4 separate regions of the Homo sapiens genome follow, and all the other regions are linked to region 1. Evidence: promoter capture Hi-C in 16 types of primary human blood cells and fetal thymus (Javierre and others, 2016). All regions are on one chromosome and are shown on one strand. Each heading gives the region's core, a stretch centred on a gene start or on the middle of the fragment in contact. The rest is flanking DNA. Distances are from core to core; before and after follow the strand shown. Region 1 holds the start of ANKRD60 (ankyrin repeat domain 60). Region 2 overlaps RBM38 (RNA binding motif protein 38). Region 3 holds the start of TUBB1 (tubulin beta 1 class VI). Region 4 holds the start of PCK1 (phosphoenolpyruvate carboxykinase 1).

The links. The method cuts DNA at HindIII sites, captures the fragments that hold promoters and counts their contacts. A CHiCAGO score of 5 or more calls a contact.
Region 2: a fragment that was not itself captured here is called in contact with the fragment with the promoter of ANKRD60 in region 1 in 1 of 17 cell types (endothelial precursors); the score reaches 5.1 in endothelial precursors.
Region 3: a contact is called between the fragment with the promoter of TUBB1 here and the fragment with the promoter of ANKRD60 in region 1, in 3 of 17 cell types (activated CD4 T cells, endothelial precursors and total CD8 T cells). The highest score is 5.9, in activated CD4 T cells.
Region 4: the fragment with the promoter of PCK1 here is called in contact with the fragment with the promoter of ANKRD60 in region 1 in 1 of 17 cell types (M2 macrophages); the score reaches 6.9 in M2 macrophages.

Annotation. Positions count from the first base shown.
Region 1 is chr20:58,225,830-58,231,150 of GRCh38, reverse strand. It overlaps ANKRD60 (ankyrin repeat domain 60), which reads left to right and starts at 2,498. Exons shown (of 4, transcript NM_001304369.2): 1 at 2,498-2,927. The coding sequence starts at 2,498. The HindIII fragment of the contact is 6,586 bases long and covers 1,527-5,321 here.
Region 2 is chr20:57,398,523-57,403,843 of GRCh38, reverse strand. All of the region lies in intron 3 of RBM38 (RNA binding motif protein 38), which reads right to left. Among named protein-coding and RNA genes, the nearest start is that of RBM38-AS1, 8.1 kb to the right of the region's middle. RefSeq lists enhancers at 2,933-3,032, 3,015-3,878, 4,853-4,942, 4,920-5,321 and a silencer at 5,193-5,312. The HindIII fragment of the contact is 5,250 bases long and covers 628-5,321 here.
Region 3 is chr20:59,016,551-59,021,871 of GRCh38, reverse strand. It overlaps TUBB1 (tubulin beta 1 class VI), which reads right to left and starts at 2,443. Exons shown (of 4, transcript NM_030773.4): 1 at 2,293-2,443. The coding sequence starts at 2,349. The HindIII fragment of the contact is 6,433 bases long and covers 1-3,702 here.
Region 4 is chr20:57,557,607-57,562,927 of GRCh38, reverse strand. PCK1 (phosphoenolpyruvate carboxykinase 1) reads right to left here and starts at 1,818. Exons shown (of 10, transcript NM_002591.4): 1 at 1,725-1,818; 2 at 1,293-1,556; 3 at 676-857; 4 at 29-232. The coding sequence starts at 1,516. The HindIII fragment of the contact is 6,047 bases long and covers 1,114-5,321 here.

The sequences.
Region 1 (5,321 bases), core at 1,249-3,748:
AAAGAAATCTAAAGAATGATTGATGGCAGTCTTTCTAATATTGTGCCTTTGTTATAAACTACTTGGAACTTTTCCTCAGGCACTCACTCCTCCCTGCCTGACAGGAACTGTTTCCATGAAGATATGTGTTGGCCTTTGATAGAGGCATAAAGCTGAAAGATTTTTCATTTTTATATGGATATGCTGTCATATGTTTAAGAACTTGAGAGGGAAATGGATAACTGAGGTTTTTCCATTTTTATATGGATATGCTATATGTTTAAACTTGGGAGGGAAATTGATAACTGAGATGCATGGATATTGACTTTATATCTAATGCTTTAGAATCTTAACCAAAAAAAGGAAAACCTAGTTCTGATCATAACCTGCCCACAAGTTCTACGCACCTGTGACTTTGGGGGTCAAATTATATACTCTTCAAATTGACTTAAGTACACACCGCTTAGATTTCATGCGTTTCAAATTTAGACTAAGAGAAAGATGCTCTAGAATTTAACCAGGTTTTTTAAATCAGTAATTTAAGATTTTCTAACCATTTGAACAAATTTTACTTACATGTATGCACATGTCATTTTTCGTGTTTCTATTTTTATGTTCTCAAAGGTAGGATAAGGGAAGGAAGGAGGAAACAGCCCATTTGGGGTTCAAGAGCTAGCTCTGCTAAGGGCTTGTAAGCTATTTCTATTCTGCCCTTTGGTCTTTTTCTTGTTTGTCTTGTCTTTATTTTTAAATGAAATTCTTGAAGCTATGTATTGAATTTTCTAGTATAGAGGATGTGACTTCCACCTCCAAATTCCATTTAACTGATTCTTTTAAAAGAAAGATAGGCGTATATACACCACGCCAAAATAATAATAAGGTACCTATGTGAGAATTGCAAATTATACCCCAGGGTAGCATTTAGGCAGCGTCGGCAAAAAGTGAGTTAATAAATCAGAAGCTACATATTAAAAAAAAAATCAGTCAATCCGTCGTGTGTTTAATTCTTGCCTAAAGTAAATGGAGATATTGTTTTGCTTTGGTAACCAGCAATTTTTAATTTTTTTTTATTGCCCGCAAATTGAGATTGTTTTGTTAAAATCTGTTGATCTAGCAGCAAGTAGAATTATTCAACTGGAATCTTGTATTCTATTCAGAGCTTAATTTTCCGTTAAGGAAAAAAATGAGCTTCAGTTTGTGTTGTGATGTGTATAATTTGCATGCTGAATCACAACATGCTTGGAGAGATTGTAGAGACTCTTTGGTAAATAATCTAACCTTTACAATTTCCGTTTATATGTTAACATTTTTCTATAATATGAGTGCCTTTCCAATGCACAGATATTTTTTATGGCTGTAATTTCTCTGTAAAAATAATTTTTAAGCATACATTTTATTCTTTTTTTGCAACAACCGAGATTTTTCCAAGATTGTTCTGTTTCCCCTCGCCCTCCTAGCTCCCGCCCCCGTCACTTCGGCGCTTGTATTTTCTAATTATTCATGGGTGCCATGTTGAGTGTTTGTAATTTGACCACCACAGGTAAGCTTCCTGTTTACTTGAACACTCAGCCTCATCTCCGGTGAATGAAGGGAAAAGCACAGATGGGTTTCTCCCAGGCACAGCTCACTCCAAAGGTGTCTTCATAGAGCCAACCCAGCCTTTCTCAAGGGAGCATTTCCCCACTTAATGTGTTTATCAGCATCTTTCTTCCGCCAAGAATTCAAGAGCATTTTCAAAATTGATAGATTTTGGTGCAGTTTTGCAAGTTTCCGTGGAAGGCTGTCTCCCGCTTCTGGGATCCACCCCCATGTCGGGACCAGATCGGCTGCAGGGAGTCATGTTTATGAAATGTTGGTGGTTTTTTTTTTTTTTCATTCATACTAGAAGTGTTTTTATAACGAAAATCTGCACTTTACAACTCTGCAGGCCATGCATGCAATGGTGATTTACAGCCTTGTTTACGTGTAATTCCTCCAGGTGATTTATCCCAATTTATGCAAAGATCCTATTTTAAACAGACACGGAGAAGTGGTAACCGTTTCCTAACAGCAGCAAGAATGCCCCTTCCGTTTGCCTGGTGAAAAGAACTGACATTAACAGCAGCTTGGAGGCTTCGAGGAGGTGGGGACGTGGCCTGAGCTCGGGACGGGGGCCCAGTGCGGGTTGTCGGAGCGTGGCTGCCCGGCGATGTCTCTGTATTTATCAATAAATCTCCCGGTTGCTCTGGGAAGCACTTATGTCCTGTTCCATTATTTAAGAACCGTCTCCCGCGGCCGCGTGAAACTGCGGCTTTGTTCATCGCGGAGCGGGAAAGGACTGCGGGACCTTGGGGGGCCGCCCGCCCATCGGTCTCCCTGGAGGCTCGGGCGGCAGGCAGGGAGGGGCCTCGCCTTGCGTCTGGAGGGGGCGGTCCTGGCGGGGCCTGGGCGTCACAGTGGGGCGGGGGGCGCATGGGCCCGCCTTGGGGCGTCAGGGCGGGGGCGGCGATGACGCGTGGCCACCGCACTCGAGCCGCGGATGACGCGCGGCCGCGCCTGGGGGATGCGGCGGGCGGCGGCGGGGGCGGGCGGAGCGCGGGCGGCGGGGCCAACTGGGGGCGCCTCTCGCCTGCACCCCAATGCGGGACGCAGGAGCGGTGCGCGGGCCGGGGCTCAGGGGTGCGGCGGGCCCAGGGTGGGCTCGGCGGACTCGCGGGCCCTCCCCGCGCAGCCCCTGGCCTGTGCCCGCGGCCGGAGCCAGCGGCTCGTCTGTGACCCGAAGGCCGCGAGTGCCTTGCCCGACTTGGCCCCTGACGTCTTCGTCCTGCGGGTGCGGCTGGAGGAGACGGGGGAGATGTTCCGAGTGGCAAACTGCCGCGGCGACATGACCGTGCGGGAGCTCAAAGAGGAGCTGGACCTGATGGTCGGCATCCCCTTCAACCTCCAGCGGCTCCAGTACCTCGACGAAGGTGGCTCCTGCCCTGACTCCTTCCCTGGCCACATGCAAGGGCACCCTGTCCACTTCTGAAGTGGATTCCCAAAGGGAAGCCTGCTTACGTGAGAAACCCCAGATGTCAAAGCAAACCCCTGAAACCCAACCACCCTGAAACCCAGATGGAAGGGCCACTTAGGGTCCTGGCCACAGAGGGACTTCCCAATCTCAAACACACGGCGTTCAAATTGGACTCCCAATCAAGGCAAACCTTGTCCACAGCAGGACCCTAATCCACAAGCAGGTCCTGCCTGGATCGGGCTGCATCTGCCAACCCTGAGCAAATCCTGTCCAAGCCAGGACCCCCCAGAAGCCAGACCCTCAGGCTCCCCATGTCTTCATAAGGAACCCAGGTCCCAAAGCCAACTCTGTTCATGTAAGACTTGTCTGAAACAAGGCCTGTCCTCAGCAGAACCCCCAAACCCAAGGCAAGCCTGCCCATGTCAGTACCCCAAACTCAAAGCAAACCCCAAGTCCTCCTCCATGCTGGTCTTGAGAACATTAGAACCCCAAATCCTCTAGCCAACCATGTCCACGCAAGCATGCCAAACCTGAAACAAACCCTGCTGACCTCAGGACCCACAAATCCAGAATAAAATTGCCCAACACCGAACCCCAAATCTCTAGGCTAACCATGACTACTTCAGAACCCCAAATCCTCCAGCTACCACATCCCCCCCAGGATGCCAGGGCTTGAACAAACCTTGACCACCTCAGGACCCCAAAATCCAGAGCACACATGCCCAACTGAACCCCAAATCTCCAGGCTACCCATGACTACCTCAGAACCCCAGATTTTCCAGCCACTTTTGTCTTGCAAGGATGCCAAATCAAAACAAACCCTGTCCATCTCAGGACCCCAAAATCAACAAACCAGCCCAAGACTCAACCCCTAATCTCCAGGCTAACCATGACTACCTCAGAACCCCAGATCCTTCAACAACTGTGTCCAGGCAAAGAGGTCAAAGCTGAAACAAACTCTGTCCAGTTTAGGACCCCAAAACCAAGAACAAACCTGGCTAAATCTGAAATCCCAAATTGCCAGACTAATTATGTGACTATTAGAACCCCGAATCCTCCACAACCATGTCCACACAAGGATGCCAAGATCCGAAACAAACGCTGCCTGCCTCAAGACCCCATATATCTCTATGCAACTTCTGCCCATGTTTCAGCCTCAAACCCTGAAGCTATGCCTGGCCATAACAGAACCCTAAATCCCAGAGCAGACTCTACCCACGTCATGACCCTCAATTGCCCAATTCTGGACCCCCGGCCTCCAACTAACCATTTGTGCATCTGAACCCCAATCCATTAGCCACTTCTGTCTACATAAGGATGACAGAGCCCAAAATGAACCCTGCCCACATATGGACCCCAAAATTCAAAGCTAACTCTGCTCACATCTAAAAGGCAGTCACCGAGCTCACCATGACCATACCAGAACCCAAATCCCCTCAAAGTATCTTCATAAGGGCTCCAAAGAATGAAGCAAACTCTGTCCACAGCAGGACCCCAAAGCTCAAGTCAAACCCACACATATCTGAACCCCCAGATACGAAACCGTGTCTACATCAGCACTCCAAGGTTGAAGCTGGCCATGTCCATGTCAGGAAGTCAAGGTTCAAACAAAACCTTGCCTCCATGAGTACCCCAAAACTCAAAGCAAACTTTTCTTGTATATGTAACCCAAATCCTTCAGCCAACCTTATTTATACCAGAACCCCAAATTCCAGACCAAACCCTGCATATAGCAGGAGCCCAAATTTTGAGCAGATTTTATCACCATGAAGACCCCCAAATCTCAGGGCAGATGTGCTCGATTCCTACCCTCCAAATGCTACACTACTCGGGGCTACATCAGATCCCCACATCCCAAAACAAGTCCTGCCCATACGAGGACTCCAAATCCCAGAACAGACCTTTTCACATCAGGACCCCAAACAGACAGCAAACCTTACTTTAATCAGAACCCCAAATCCAGAGTAAACTGCCCTCACAGGAACCCGAGTCTCAAAGCAAATGCTGCTATCTACGTTTGAACCCCAAATAGTGGCAACTAACCCAGTACATATCAGAACCCCAAATTCCAAGCTGTGTCCTTGTTCACATCGGGAGCTCAAAGCTAGCCCAGCTGGAATCAGAACCCAGAACCGAAAGTTCCCTGTGACTGAATTAGGACCCCAAGGGCCCCACTCCAGACAAGTCCCATGTGGCAGATACCCAGTGGAGGCCAGGCACCCTAGAGCCCATCTCTCCTTCCATCAGTCTCCTTCCCTGACCCGAAGGCGTGGCTTTCCCTATCCCGATTCCCTACAATATTTAGGATATGAGAACAGGATCAAAGTCCCTGGGCTCCATCATCTCCCCA
Region 2 (5,321 bases), core at 2,003-4,502, 830 kb after region 1:
TCAGGACCAGCCTAGCCAACATGGCGAAGCCCTATTTCTACTAAAAATACAAAAATTAGCCAGGTGTGGTGGCGGGAGCCTGTAATCCCAGTTACTCGGGAGGCTGAGGCAGGAGAATCGCTTGAAACCAGAAGGTGGAGGTTGTGGTGAGCTGAGATCATGCCACTGCACTCCAGCCTGGGCGAAAGAGCAAAACTCTGTCTCAAAAAAAAAAGCCATAGAAAAGATGCTAGTGTTAGCCCATCTCCCAGAGAGGAAATCCGAGGTTCAGAGAGGCCCCAAGCGACTTGCCCCATCGCAGAGCAAGGGACTGGTACAGTGGGGCCTGCTGCTGGTAGCTGTGCCTGCAAGGACTGGCTGGGGCCCCAGGTTCAGCTCAAAATAAAAGGAAGGCACAGCACGGGCCACACCTCAAGCCCCAAGGGGGAGTGAGAACACCGGCTGAAGTTAAGGTAGAAGCAGCCACGAAGCCCCGCCAGGCAGGAGCTGGGTTCCAGCAGCTTCTCTCCCTCCTAGGGTTGCGCCTCGCCCCTGCACTTGTCTGAGTTACCAAACAGGTTTCAAAACTTCCAAGGCGCAGTTTCCTCATCTGTAAGTTGGGTCCTACAGAGGCTGACCTCAAAAGCTTGCTGTGAGGCCTAGAGGTGCCACTAGAACAGCGATTCCCAACCAGGACAACTGTGCCCCCAGGGGACACTGGAAAATGCCTAGGGACGGTCCTAGTTGTCACAACTGACAACTAGGAATATGAGGTGCGGGTGGGGGTGCTGCTGACATTAGGGGTCGAGGCCAGGGGTGCTGACCGCTTCCTACAATGCTCAGGGTGCCCCCACAACAAAGAACGATGCCGTCCTAAAGGTCCGCAGTGCCAAGGCTGAGACGCCCGACTGTGGACCATCAGAAACCACATGGGGAAGGGGAAGGGCAAAGACAAGGGATCCTCACTGCTGCTCTGACCACAGGTGCCCACGCCGGGCGGCCACAAAGAAGGCAGGTGGGAGCAAAGAGAGACAGAGGGGCTCATGCAGCCACGCACGCATGGGCGAACCCACTGAGTGGTCAGGTGAGAAAGAAAAATGCAGCCAAACCACCGGCCCTGCACTGTCCAAGGGCGGCCCCGCCCCGGCCGCAGGCCCAAGGCTTCACTGCCTGGCAATGGGGAGCGGGTGCACGCACCAGGCAGGTTCCTCAGCATCCCCACTCACACGCCATGCTCAGAAAGCTCAGGTGCCACAGCCTCTGCACACAAGGGCACAGCCTGGTAGCTGCACGCCGCCCCACCCACCAAGTGTGTCCCCTGCACAGGCTCGCCTGCCAGGGCACGTGTCTGCCTGGCCCTGGTGGGACTCTCCTGCACTCTCCACCTCAGTGAAGAGCCCACCAGGCCACCCAGGCACTGCCCTGCCCACTCACCCCCACTGCAGCCTATGCCCACACCATCCAACAGGGAGCTCCCTGCTTCCATCCCTCAATTCTCCGATCCTCCCTCTCCTTCATCACCGACTCTCCAGGCGGGCGCAGTGGCGTGGCCCTGCCTTGGTGGTGGTGGAGACCTGCCTCCATCCCTGAATCCTTCACCCAGCAGCAGTTGGAGCTGTCTTAAAAACATCAAGACCCACGCCTGGAATCCCAGCACTTAGGGAGGCCGAGGCGGGCGGATCATGAGGTCAGGAGATTGAGACCATCCTGGCCAACACGGTGAAACCCCATCTCTACTAAAAATACAAAAATAGCTGGGCGTGGTGGTGCGTGCCTGTAATCCCAGCTACTCAGGAGGCCGAGGCAGGAGAATGGCTTGAACCCGGGAGGCGGAGGCTGCAGTGAGCTGAGATCAAGATACTGCACTCCAGCCTGGAGACAGAGCGAGACTCCGTTTCAAAAAACAAACAAACGAAAACATCAACACCCCATCACCTCCAGAAGCAGAACCCTCCAGCTGCCTCCCACTGTACCCAGAAGAAAACCCAAACTGCTCCCTTGTGGCTTCCTGCGTTATTAGGCCTCAACCTACCTCTTCTAACTCATCTCCACTTGCACTGCGCCCTCCCTGGCCACACTCCCACTGCCCTGGGCTCCTTCTGTTCCCAGATTCGACTCCTTCCCACCACAGGACCTTCGCACCTATGCACTTGCTTCTTCCCACAGCTCAAAGCTCACCCCTCAGGGGTCCACCCAGGCGGCTCTGTTTCCTTATGATCGGAAGCCCCTTCATCATCTACCTTGCACAATGTCTTCCCCACAAGAGCAGGGTCTCAGCTGCTGCGTCCCAAGTGCCCCAGCACAGCAGGTGCCCAGTGCTGAGCATCTGAGGCAGGCCCCGGCTTTGCAGGTAGCTGGGAGGCAAAAGAGCCCCCCCGTGGAATGGCCTCTGCTTCCCAGGCCAAGAGTCCCTGCCCCAAGAAGGCAGAGAAAGCAGTTCAGCCTTGAGCAGCCAGGGCTGGGCAGGCTGGAGGGACAGGCAGGCACGGCTCCACCCAGCAAGTCACAGCTAGACAGGCACAGCCCGCCAGCCTCTGCTCCCCGACCAGGTGCCTGGCGGCCCCGGGTGACCTCATCACTGCCTCTGGGGAACCACACGCCCCAGGGGGCTGCTGTGAGGATCTATTGCTTCTGTGCACCCCAGAGACTTCAGCAGCATCGACGCCTCCTTGGGCCTGAGGAATGCTGGGAGGGACAGAGGCCCTCCCTCTCCTAGGACTTTCAGCCCCAGGTCAGGGGGCAGCAGCCAAGAACCCTTGGTGAGCAAAACAGACCAGCGGCCAGGCGCAGTCAGGTAGGAGCCCAAAGGTCGGGGGACCCAATGCTCATCAGGGCTGCTCCTGTTTGGCCAGGGCCCACCGGCCTCTTTGGGCACACGGCACTTGCTCCCTCCTCTAGAAGCCACTTTGGAATCGGCCCTCTGTACGGCCGCTGCTGGAGTCCCACGCGCTCCCCAGGGTTGCAGAGCCACAGCCCAGCTGTAACCTCAAAGGAGAGGGCAGGAGCCTCCTTCCCTTCCAGTTTCCTTCCAAGTTCCGGCCTCAGAACAACCGGGCGTCTGTGCCTCCTCATCCTCTGCAGAAAACTTCTATCCTCCCACCAAGACCCCAGAGAAGGGTCTTGCACCAATCAGAGGCGGATCTGTTTACCAGAGAATTAATCCCACCACGTGTGCAAAGTCCAGGCAGAGCCAAGGAAGAAACCACAGGAATGGGTGGGACAGACCCCCCACATGCCACCCAAGCCCCACTGCAACGCTGGACACTGGGCACAGGCACCTAGCTGGGGTCCGGGGTGTCTGCGGAAGGATGACTCAGGGGTTCTCTGCTTCCCTCTAGTGCCGGAGCCTGGGCAACACCAAACCCCCAAATCACGGAGCCACTGAAACGGGCCACCATTAGGGCTGGAAAGGCCAGGCCATGCCGGGAGGGTTGGGCATGCAGGAGGAGCTGGCTCTGCCACAGCCCAGGAGAGGACAGGGGGACCCCGAGCCTGGTCCAGACTGGAAATCTGAGGTGCCTGCCTCCCTTCCCGTTCACACGTGGCCCAGGCAGCATTTGCACCCCAACACACCCAGGGTCAGCACACAGTCAAGAGCACCCCAGCTGACTCTGTCCACAGAGACTCAGGGGTCCAAGGGCAGGAAGAGCCCCAAGCCCGGATCCTGGCCATGCCTGTCCAAGTCGCATGGACCATCACTCAGCCCCTCCGGCCTCTGTTTCCCCATCTGTAAACTAAGGATGCTGCAGAGTCCAACAGATTGCCCCCAAGACAGAGGGCTTGGGCCTCCGGCAGAGTCTGAGAACCCCGTGGTGGGCGGGAGAGAGAAGTACAGATGGTGCTGGGGACACATGCTGCCCACACTCAAAGCAGAACTCGCAGCGAAAAGAACTGACCACGGCCCAGGAGGACTCATTTTCTGAACATAAAGTCGCCTCTGAAAATAAAAACGAAAAAGGCAAATGAGCCCATTTCACTTTCCCTGCTCTCCAGGGGCCTTGCCCCACCTCGGCAGAGACGGACCGCAGCTCTTAGGGTTCTGACTCCCGCCTGGCTGGGTGTGGGAAGGTCCCCGAGGCGCCTGGCAGGCAGGAAGCCAGGCCATGGCCCTGCCTCCCGGGAATCCCCAGTGACTTGTGAGGGGGAGGGCCGGGAGGTCTAGGGACATTCAAGTTCTGTGGGGCAGCCAGCCACAGGACACAGGTCGAACGCCCTCTCTGTGGGGCAATGCCAGGCCCGGAACAGCATCTCCACCTGAACCGGCCCAAACTCCAACTCCTGACCTTCTCCCCAAAACTGTACTGCACAGCTGCCTCCACCCCAGTCAGGGCCAAGCCCATCTCCCATTTCAAAGGCCCAAAGCTCCAGAATCTTCTTGGACTCCTCTTTCTTTCCCAGGTTCTTTAAAATAGACACCCAGAATCTCACTGTATCTCACCAGGGCCGCTGGTGCAGGCAGCACCCTCGTCTCATGCCTGGATTACTGGGCATCCTCTAAGGGCCTCCAACCACCACAATACCCTCGGCAGTCCAGGCTCAACCCAGCAGCCAGAAGCAAAAACACTCTGAAAACAAAAATGCAGACTGACCCATCCCTCCTCCGCTCGGAGCCTGCGTGGTCCGGTGTCACTTGGAGGAATGTAGCAGTGCCTCCCTGGGTCATCAAAGTCCTCTAGGAGCTGAGGCTACCCTGTCGGGCCCTGAGCCTCCCCGGCTGCTCCCTTCCCCTCCCCAGCTCCTGTCGCCTTCTGAGGCATGCTGACCTCCTTTGTCTCTGTCCTCCTCTCAGCACCTCGCTGCAGAAAGCACTGTGATTAGGAGCTGGGACCGGGTCTCCCCTCACCCCCATGGCAGGCATCCCCAGCCTGGCACAAAGCAAGCAAAGATCTGTCAGACAAGCTGACCCAGTGTCCAGCTCCCTACTCTATCCAAATGAGATCAGCAGGAAGGTCCTGATGCCCGCAAGCACACTGCAGAGTTATCAGCCTGTCCACCCTGGACACAAGGTGAAACTGAGGCTAAACGAGGAAAGCTCGAGCTTGGGCCTCCACTCAGTCTGTGATCAGGCTTCTACCCTGAGACAAAGCTGTGCCCCTTGGCCCAAGGCTTCCAGAAGAGGCTCCCCAAGCCCAGCAGCGAGCCAGGGTGAGAACTCATGCTCGGAGAAGAGCCCCCGCCACCCAAAGGCTGCTTTCTGTTTCAGCAGACAGGACAAACAACAGGTGCGGCACGGGCGCCCGCCCAGGAGGGCCACGGTGCAGCCCACGCCTGGCTCCAGATGAGCTGCCAAACAGGAAGCCTTGTGGGGGGGCAGGGGGGCGGCGGGGCCACCACGAGACACC
Region 3 (5,321 bases), core at 1,194-3,693, 790 kb before region 1:
AGGCGTCCACCACCATGCCCAGCTAATTTTTGCATTTTTAGTAGAGACAGGGTTTTGCCATGTTAGCCAGGCTGGTCTCAAACTCCTGACCTCAGGTGATGCACCTGCCTCGGCCTCCCAAAGTGCTAGGATCACAGGCGTGAGCCACTGTGCCCGGCCAGTAATGTGCATTTTTGATTGTCAGGTATACATACAACTCACAATTACACATAGTTGTCCTCTGGTAACTATTTGAAACATACTGCACTTCCAGTCACATACACAGTACTTATTAATATAGATATGTGCCAAGCTCTTAATATGGAAACAGTTACTGGGAAGACTCCTTTTGATCACCCTGAAAGGCACATATTAAAATGCAATGAAAATGTATTCACATATATTAAAATCCCCAAGGGTATGTTAAAAACCCCAGCCATATCTTCTAAATGACAGTGCTGCTCTGGCCATGGTCTTAATAACAAGGCAGTTCATGGTAAACTGCCAGCACTGTTCAGGGAGTGGAAGAATAAATAAATTCAAGTTCTAAGATACCCCAAATTAAATGTGTCTTAAAGTTCTTATATCTCTAAATGATGAGTCAGCCAGGACTCTCAACGCTAGACCATACGATTCCAGAGTGAGAGCTAAAACCCTATCTAAACCTAACACTTTCTCTTGAGGGCCCCTTTCCGTATTATCTTCCAGCTTCAGAGCAGCAGGGCTCCTGCCTCCCACTTCTCTGTGTGTGAGTTATGAATGTCTTACCCCTGAGGCATGGAGGAATGGTGACTTCTTTTCAAGCAGTAATGTTCCTTGCCCCCGGTTTAAAACGCCTGCATTTAAAAGCCTTAGTTGTTTCCTGGCAGCATTACTCACAGTAGCCAAAAGGCAGAAACAACCCAAGTGTCATTGATGGATGATGAATGTAGGTGTTTCAAAACCTCACTTTTAATGCATCTCATATTAGTAAAAGTAATTTCACAGCAGCAAAGAGAACACGATAAATTTTGCACGGTGCAATTGGTCATCTTAAAATCAAGATTGGAGATTGTGGGTTCGGGCATCTGTGTTCTTGGGGTTGGCCAATTAAGTTACGTACTTGGGGGAAATTTTTAAGCAGGGGGGCAAGGGAAAGAAAAACTCATTTATATTCCAGACAGTGTATTTTAATTAATTATGTTACTGTACACAAAAAACTTTTATTTTCAATTAAATTTCTTAAATTTTCAATTGCATACTAATAAAACAGTAATTGATTTTTTTTAAGCGTTACAATAAACATGAGAGGGGAGGGGAAAGACACCATAGTGACAGGGTACAGAAAGTTTCTCAAAAAACTTCAAAAAGCTGTTTTGAGACAAATTACTGTTTTTAGATATGAAAAGTTCATTGTTAAGATAAAAGTGGGCCAGGTACAGTGGCTCACGCCTATAATCCCAGCACTTCGGGAGGCCCAGGCGGGCACATCACCTGAGGTCAGGAGTTCGAGACCAGCCTGACCAACATGGTGAAACCCCATCTCTACTAAAAATACAAAATTAGCCAGACGTGGTGGCGCATGCCTGTAATCCCAGCTACTGGGGAGGCTGAGGCAGGAGAATCACTTGAACCCAGGAGGTGGAGGTTGCAGTGAGCCAAGATTGCGCCATTGCACTCCAGCGTGGGCAACAAGAGTGACACTCCATCTCAAAAAAATAAAAGATGATAAAAGTGCCAGGCACGGTGGCCTACACCTGTCATCTCACCACTTTGGAAGCCTGAGGCAGAAGGATCACTTGAGCCCATGAGTTCAAGACCAGCCTGAGCAACAAAGTGAGATCCCTGTCTCTCAAAAAAAAATTTAAAAATTAGCCAGGCATAGTGGTGCATGCCTGTAATCCCAGCTACTCAGGAGGCTGAGGCAGGAGAATAGCTTGAGCCCAGGAGGTTGAGGCTATAGTGAGCCATGATTCTGCCACTCTACTCCAGCCTGGGCAACAGAGTGGGCAAAGAAAAAGATGATAAACGTATTATGTAATATAATGGTCGGCATGTATTGTACATATGTATCTATGGATAAAATTAACATTAATTAAATTAACACTCTAAGCACTTAATGTGTGTTGTAGCTCTTTAGTTAAAGATTGTTTCCTTCTTTTCCCATGTGAAATTTTTTTTTAAGAATTAAAGCCCAAAGGCATTGTCTGATATTTAGCAAGTACATTAAATCTGCTAGACTTATTGTCTTCCCTGCTAACTTAGGGTATTTTTTTGGTTGTCCGCCTCTATGGACTGTGGTAAAGCTAGGATTAGTAACCAGACATTACTTACCTTGGCTCCGATCTGGTTGCCACACTGGCCAATCTGAATATGGACAATTTCACGCATCCTTGCTCTGAGCCCAAGTCTGAGATCTTCACGGAATCCTCAGACTCTCAGAATCCAGAGCTTCGGTTCACTGGTGTGAGCCCAACACAACTGTGGTCACTGCAGTGGTGGGACTGGCCAACCAAGCTACCCTCACAATGTGACCAAGGGTGTGTCCACCCCAGAGGCCCAGCTCCCCGCCCTCAGCCAGTCCTGGCCCTTCTCTGCTTTCTGCCTGTCATGCTTTTGGAAGGGAGTGTTTTTCCTCCCTCAACACAGAATACTGCCCCATCATTTCCTAGAGAGTGAGTGCAAGATTAAAGGCCACCTCGGGGCACAGGGCCTGGAGGCTGGCACTGTTTGCAGGCTTCTAGGTGACCATGCTGGCCCTAGTGACCGTGGTATGATGACTGTGGCTCCTAGCTCACCCAGGTAACCAGACCACCTCCAAGGGCTTTCCCTGTCCATCTTCCCGGCCCCTTTTCCAGACTTTGGTCCCCAGAAGCCCCGTGCCCCGCCACAGCAGGAGGCTCCACAACTGGGCCTCGCAGGTCCCAGGTCCCGGGATGGCCTGCATCAGGCACTGTCTGCCCGCCCTCCCCCACATGCCCTCTCTCGCCCTGTATGCAAGTTACTCTGCAGTGTCCTGCAGGTCTCTTGGACCCCTGCCCTATCCATGCCAGGGCTGGGCTGTGCCCCAGCACCCTTCCCAGCCCCTGCTCTGTCGTCCCATCTCAGCTCATGGTGTCTGGGGTCTTAATGTTTGCCATAGGGTCCCTTTACCAGACCCTGAATTCTCCAAGAGCAAAACGGACTCCCAATTGTATTCCCTTAGAGCCGGGTGTGGTGGCTCACTCCTGTAATCCCAGCACTTTGAGAGGCCAAGGTGGGCAGATCACCAGAAGTCAGGAGTTCAAGACTAGCCTGGCCAACATGGCGAAACCCCATCTCTTACTAAAAATACAAATATTAGTCAGGTGTGGTGGCACACACATGTAGTCTCAGCTACTCGGGAGACTGCGGCAGGAGAATCGCTTGAACCTGAGAGGCGGAGGTTGTAGTGAGCCGAGATCATGCCACTGCACTCCAGCCTGGGCGACAAAACAAGACTCTGTCAGAAAAAAAAAAAAAAGCATTCCCTCATGCGGTGTACAGGAGTGGCAGCAGGCTGGGTACTCAGCAGCTTGAAAGCAGCTGTTCTGTCTCCTGGTCCTCAGTACCTCCCCTGCCACCAAGTTTCTATCATCGTCGAAAGCCAGCCCTAGGCTTTATTACCTCCAACCAGGCAAGGGCATCCAGGCCAAACACCAGCTCCATATCCTTGCCCAGGAGGGTGGCAGTTCCCCACCGCCTGGAGGACAGAAGGTGGAAGCTTCCAAGGAAGATGGGGAAGGGACTCCCTGAGAAGGCGTGAGAGCCCTGGCTCGGAAGGGGAGAGCCAGTGGACGCTGCCTTGTGCCTGTTGAGCTGTCGAGGTGCAGGTGGGCAGGTACAGGGCAAGGCCTCACTCCTGAAGCCCCGAGGATGTGGACAACCACCATCCGGTGAGCAACCACCTCTTGAGGCCTCTCTTTAACGTCTGCCGGGCACCCTGAGGTTGCCCCCATTCTTTGAACAGCTATGGACGGGGACCTGTCATAGGCTGGGCTCACCTTGGGCGCTGCAGACAAGGGAATGAAGGAGGTAGATGTGGCCAGATCCTGCACTCTTGGAACTCTGGCTTACTTAGGAAGAGAGCACTCCTAGCTCTGGAGCAGCTCAAGGACACCATCTCTCAGGACAGGGACTCAGGACAGGCAAGACTACTGAACTCAGAGCGAGAAGCCCTGGAGGTCCTTCCCTCCCCTGCCTCTCGCCAGACCCGTGACCTTGGTTGAAGCATTGGAGCCCAGCCTGGTCCATGAGGGGCCTGTGCTTCCTGTGCCCCAAGCCCAGGCTTGACTCCTAAACCTTGTGTTCCTTCTACAGGCCTGGTGGGGCCCAGGATGTGAGGTCAGGAACACAATCAGGAAAGTTCCTAACGATGGAGTGTCTGGGGGAAATCGCTTCTGCTTACTCCCAAAGGAGCTCAAACACACAGCCAAAGGGCCTGAGCTATAAACCAGAAGAGAAACCCAGAGGTGGGGAAGAAGAAAGCACTGTGTCCTAAGAGTGCCTGGACTGGGACTGCTTCTCACCTCTGTCTAGTGTGTAGATCCCAGGCTGCCCTTGAGTACTGACAGTGCACCCCATGATCCTGGGCTGGATCCAGGACCAGGGAAGAGGGCTGCTATAGAGGATGGTATGAGGATCATTGTCAAAATTCAAATAAGGATTGTGTACACTGGAAAATAGTATTGTATCAGTGTTCCATTTCTTGACTTTGATCATGGCAGGGTGGTTCTAAGTGGAAGTCCTTGTTTCCAGGAGATCCCATATTATGAAGCACTGTGCTTCAAGGTCGTTTTGATGCTGGCAGCTTACTGGGAAACAGTTCCACAACCACATAACGTGATAAACGGAGAGAGGGCAGTTCAGCAAAGGGGCAAAGTGGTAACAATTGCTGGTTCTTTTCAAAGTTAGCACAAGATTAATACCCTTGTAACATTTCTCTAAGTTTGGAACTTTTTTGTGCTCAAACCTGAATGTCACATGACTCACAGATGCTTCCGGTCCAGTCACCCCTCCTCCCTGCCCAAAGGTAAAGAGAAGAATGTGCAAATTCAAGAGGAGGATATTCACAGGTCCTCAGCAGTATTTTTCAGAAATTAAAACAGACCATTTTATTAATGATCTGTTTAAATTAAAACAGACCTATTCATAGGTCCCCAGCAATATTTTTCAGAAATTAAAACAGACCATTTTAAAATTAAGAATAGACCATTCTGTTTCCATAGACATTAGCCCATCTTGCCTCACTTCCAGCCTTTCTCCTGGCGTGCCTTGGCCTCTTTTCCCCTTGTCTCTGTCCCCACCAGCTCTCCCGAGCCTCCCTCCCCACCCAGGGGCCCCTG
Region 4 (5,321 bases), core at 569-3,068, 670 kb after region 1:
ACTTTTGATTCTGAAATAATACACTTACTTTGTAAAGGCAGAGGGCACCCCACAGAATGGAGGCATTTGACAAACTCCCCATCGCCCACTGCTTCCAGGACGGGCGTGCCCATCCGCGTCATGATCCGCATGCTGGCCACCACGTAGGGTGAATCCGTCAGCTCGATGCCGATCTTTGACAGAGGCGAGCCCAGCGGCCCCATGCTGAATGGGATGACGTACATGGTGCGACCTACAGGGTGCGATGGGTGGGCACTGGTGAGAAATGACCTTGGACTTCGAACACGACCAGCATTTTTTTCCCAGGTAGACCCATTTTCACGGTGTTCCACTAACACCACCACACCCTGCTGGTCACCAGCCCCCTGGGTTAGAAGAGGCCACTGGAAAGTGAACAGCCTGCTGAAATTAAAGAGTTTTCATAAATGTGCAATTGGGTCCCACCAAGCTATTTAAAACCCATATGCATGGAACTAGTTTTCACGTTTGTATAAGACAGTCTGTAAAAGCAGAAGAGGGATGTGCATTTTCAATACATTGCCAACTTCATGTATGGAACTGAAAGACATCTGAGGTGGTGGGAGCTTCCATTATTGTTTGAATTACCATTAGGATAGATGTAAATAAGAAAAGGCTCTCTGCTGTTTTACCCAATCAAATCAATGTTCCGCTCACCTTTCATGCACCCTGGGAACCTGGCATTGAACGCTTTCTCAAAATCCTCCTCTGACATCCAGCGACCGAGCTGGCTGAGGCCTGTTTTGGGGATGGGCACTGTGTCTCTTTGCTCTTGGGTGACGATAACCGTCTTGCTTTCGATCCTGGCCACATCCCTGGGGTCAGTGAGAGCCAACCAGCTGCAAAAATCACAGGCTTCCTTTCAGCCAAGCACCACGGGCAGCGAACCATCTCCTTCAGTACCGTGGCTTTCCATGCCTAGCAGAGTGCTGAGCACGCTAACAACAGTCCATCAGTGTGAACACACAGACCATCTAAGACATGGCCAGGTGGACATTTACTCCACTAGGACCTGGTCTGTAGGAGAGGGGCTGCCTTTTTTTTAATCAGGAATCTAGTTGGCAGAGCTTTTGTGCACACACCTCATTTAAAGCTTGGGCTGGCCCACTAATGTCACAAAATTCAAGTCTGTATGGTTCTGACCATTGCATTCATCTTCTCAAGAGTCTGAAACTACCCGAAGGCCTTCATTCACCTTTCTCCACCAACTCCCAGGAGACGCAGGGGAGCCCTGCCTGCAGGGTGCTGGGACAGGCAGCGGGGGCCGAGCTTACCAGTTGTCATACTTCTTCAGCCGCCTGAGGATGCCCTCTTCCTCCATCTGGCCCAGAAGCCGCCCATTCTCCTCCTCAGAGCCGTCACAGATGTGGATGTGATCAGGCTGACACAGCTCAGCGTTATTCTCGAGAAACTCCCTCACTGCCTGGGGTAGGCTGTCCAGGCTTCCCTGGACAACTTTGGCCGAGAGGTTCAGGCCGTTTTGCAGCTGAGGAGGCATTTCTGCAGAGTGCTGCTAAGGGGCACGAATGTGAGGTCACCTGAAATAGAAAACGCAAGCGTCCTGAACAAAAACAACAACAGACACCTTCAAACACATTCGACGGCCTTTTGCCAGGGCTGTGCATTGCCAAATAGTTATTGCTCTCAGGAAAAAAATGAGTTCATCTTTGTAATTTTTCAAAATGTAAATGCAAAGCTCTACTTACCTTTCTTCTCTTTGGATGATCTCGAAGGGAGATCCACAGGTTTCTTTCCGGGCTCTTCCCGCCAGCAAGTTTGTGTTCCCAGTGGGAAGGCCGTGCTTGGTGGCAGAACCTCCCAGCTTTAAATACTGTGGAAAAGAATAGCCCTGCCCCTCAGCTGCACCCAGGGAGGCTCGCCACTGACGTCAGGGGGCAGGTCTCTGGATCACGGCCAGGGTCAGTTATGCTTTGGGCCAACTCACTGCAACACGCCCCAGGGAGATAATCATTGAACAGATAGTTGTTAATGAATGCTGGGAGACTTCGAGCCCTCAACCAACCATAGTGAGTTTTGACACAACTTCCAACTGACTAAACCTTGACCCATTTTACTGCTGTTGCAAAACACAACACCCTTTTCTTAACAGGCAGGTGGGTCAAGGACAAGGTTGGCCGGGGCACCTGCTAGCAGCACATTTTGTGTACCAAGAGCTGCTGGTTGGCAAAACACCACAGCTATAAGATGTCACCCCATAGTCAAAGGTCACAGTCAAAGTTCATGGGAAGGATGCACCCTAACTTGGGCAAATATGTGGCTTATTGGCAAAGATTGGAAATGCCTAACCTAACTGGGGGCTAATCACTGTATTGATTGTCTGCTCTGTGCCGCCCCCGCCCCCTGCCCCGATGTAAACTCCATGAGGGCAGGGATTTCTCCCTATTTTGTTCATTTTTCTCTCTGTAGTGCTTGGCATAGAGTAGGCACAGGATGCACACATGCTGAGCACTGTTCTAAGAGCTTGGCATCATTACTACCCTCTGAGGTGGAGGCTATGAACAACCCATGTACAGATAGGGAAACTGAGGCAGAGATTGTGTAGCCACTCACAGCCGGCTGGTGGGTTGCAGAGTGAGGATCTGAACATGAGCAAGTTGGGCCCTGGAGCACCACGTCTCTCCCTGTGAGGTACCGCCACCTTTCCAGAACCTTCCCTGTGTCCTCCAGGGAGTTCTGGGCTGAGTGCAGTTACTCCTGCAGTCCACTGGCCACTGTTCTCTTCCCTGGCAAGTCTTAGAGTTTAGGGAGTGGAGGGGGCTTGGCAGTTTTGCTAGATTATATGCTTAAGCAATGAAACCTTTATAACAGTTGTAAAGAATTTGCTTTGCAAGCCATCAGACCTTCAGTCAAATTTAATGAGCTATGGAAGCTGCTTGCTGGAGTTTGGAGAACACAGGGTGAAATGTCAAAAGAACGGGGCTAGGTCTCAACCCCCCACAGCCAGCCCACACTTCCATGGAAGCCTCTCTACCTAAGATGAGGTCAGGTGGGGACTTGGCCCATCTCCCCGCTGGGGTGTGGGATGATCCCTGAGATAATCCCAGGACTGGGCTTAGAAAGAGCTGCTGTGGCAAATACAAGTCACTGTGAATGGCAGCCTCCGACCAAACTCACTTAGAGAACCCTCCTGGGGGCTTGGGTCACACTGTGTTGGGCGTGGGTCACACATCATCAAGTTCCACCAAAATTATCAACCCATTGCTATGTTTCCTGTATTCAGATTTTATTCAGCCAGTTGTGTCTTTCAGGATAAATATGATATGAGGTGCTTTTTGTTTCATTTGAAGTTATTCCCCGTTTAGGTCACTGGCATTTGTTATTAGTGGTGCTGTCATCCATACATAAGATCGTGTTGTGTCTAAACCCAACAGTGACGTGATGCTCAGTAGCCGAGGCCACTTCGTTAGCATCTGACATCAGTGAATTAGCCATCCCGATGCATGACCACAATTCCGTGACACACACATCACTCCCGGCGAGACTCATCCCACCAAATTGGTAGAAAGTCCCATTTTGCTGATAAAACGGTAACAGGTTTGAGTACCTGAAAGAGCACATAGATTGAAAACAAAAAGGGAAAGCAGAACTCATTTGGAGTCCTAAATGCGACCCATCCATTCCAGGTGCTTATGTTCTGAGTCTTCTGGGAGAGAAACAGCTAGTTCAAGTAAAACGTCAGAGCAGTGAGTCACCAACGACCTTCATCCGATCCTTTCATTACCTGCATTTACAGCGTGGAAGGACGGTAATGATTCCCCCGCAACTGTCCCTTGTCAAAATGTTAAAAAGCAAACATTGGTTTACAGACTTGCCTCAAAGGACAGAGTTCTCTGGAAGAAGAATCATGATAAAGTAGAGGGGTTTTGAGGACACACAGGCAAAAGTATGGGTACAGTTGCCTTAGGTCTTGGCAGATGATGCCCTCGGGCCCCCATTTTTCCTGTCCTTAGAGACTCCCTGCCCCAGTGGGGACTCATTGACAACAATTTCAAGGGGCTGGCCGGAAGCATGGGTCTTCCTCATCTGACTGTCAGCTTATTTGTAAGTAAGCCTCAAAACTAACTACTGTCTGTTGGTTTCAACAGGGACCCGAAGAAGCAGCCAAACAGCCACCCTGCTGGTGGGATCCCTGAGGACCCCCAGTTAACCCGCCGAGTGGACTTTGCAGTGTGTGCTCAGTGGGTGGGGCATGGAGGTGGCTCACGCTGCCTGTGAGTTGCGTTAGTTGTTTCTGGGACGGATGCCATAGAGACCTCCTAGCTTTTGGGGAGCTCCTTAGGCTCAGATTTTCTTAGGTCCAAGGCTGCTCTTCTTTTGAAAAATGTATAAAAAGTTGAGCCCAGATACAAAATTGGGGAAAGAAGGAGAAAGAAAGATCGGACACTAAAATAGTTTCAAACTAAAAGGGACTTCCTCCCTGCACCTTCCTGGGGCCACTCCATGTTTTGCAGTTACTCAGGGATATCGATTGCTTTTTCCCTGCTTTGTGACCACACCAGCTATATCCTGATACGAGATAATTAGACGGATTTAAAAAGGTAAAGAGAAGTTTTGCATCCAATTTGCTGCAATCTCATATTCTCTAGGAAGCCTCAGCTCAAACGTTTATTAAATGCTTGCTATGTCTCTAGCACCGGGCATAATAATCTTCATAATACTGGGCTTTCTCTGCATGCCAGAAATGGGATGCATTCCATGATTTTCTCCGATGTAGGTACCTTTGTTATCTTTCCCATTTTATAGATGAGGAAACTGAGGGTCTCAACCCAGCTGGGTATAGACGAGGGTCGAGAAAGGAATCATATTCATTCCTTCAACAGTGAATGAGCAGCTACTATTGCCAGTTCTCTAGATGTGTCCTCAAACTGAGAGTCCTTTTCCTGTCTATACTCCCAGCACATAGTCATCAAGCACTTGCTGAGCACCTACTTCATACTGATCCTAGGGTCCACTTCATAGTCTCAAGAGCATGCCTCACTCTTGGAAGGGGGCTCTTCTCTTGGAGTTTCATGCTCTGGGGTCACTGTCTTGAAATTCATAGTGATCTTCTAAGTTTGTGTCACTTCTACATTTGAAGGGATGATGGGGCACGCGGCGTGGCTCTTGTACAGTTCTGCCTCCCTCAGCCTTTCTGCTTCTAAGGATGGAGCCTCAGCTGCCCGCTCCCCTGTCTCTTCCTGCTAGGTGACCACTGCTGCCCTCCACCCCGACTAGGGTCTGAGCACAAGGGCAGGGAAGTCAGGTCAGAGTTGTGCGCCCATGAGGGTCTGCACTCATTCCCA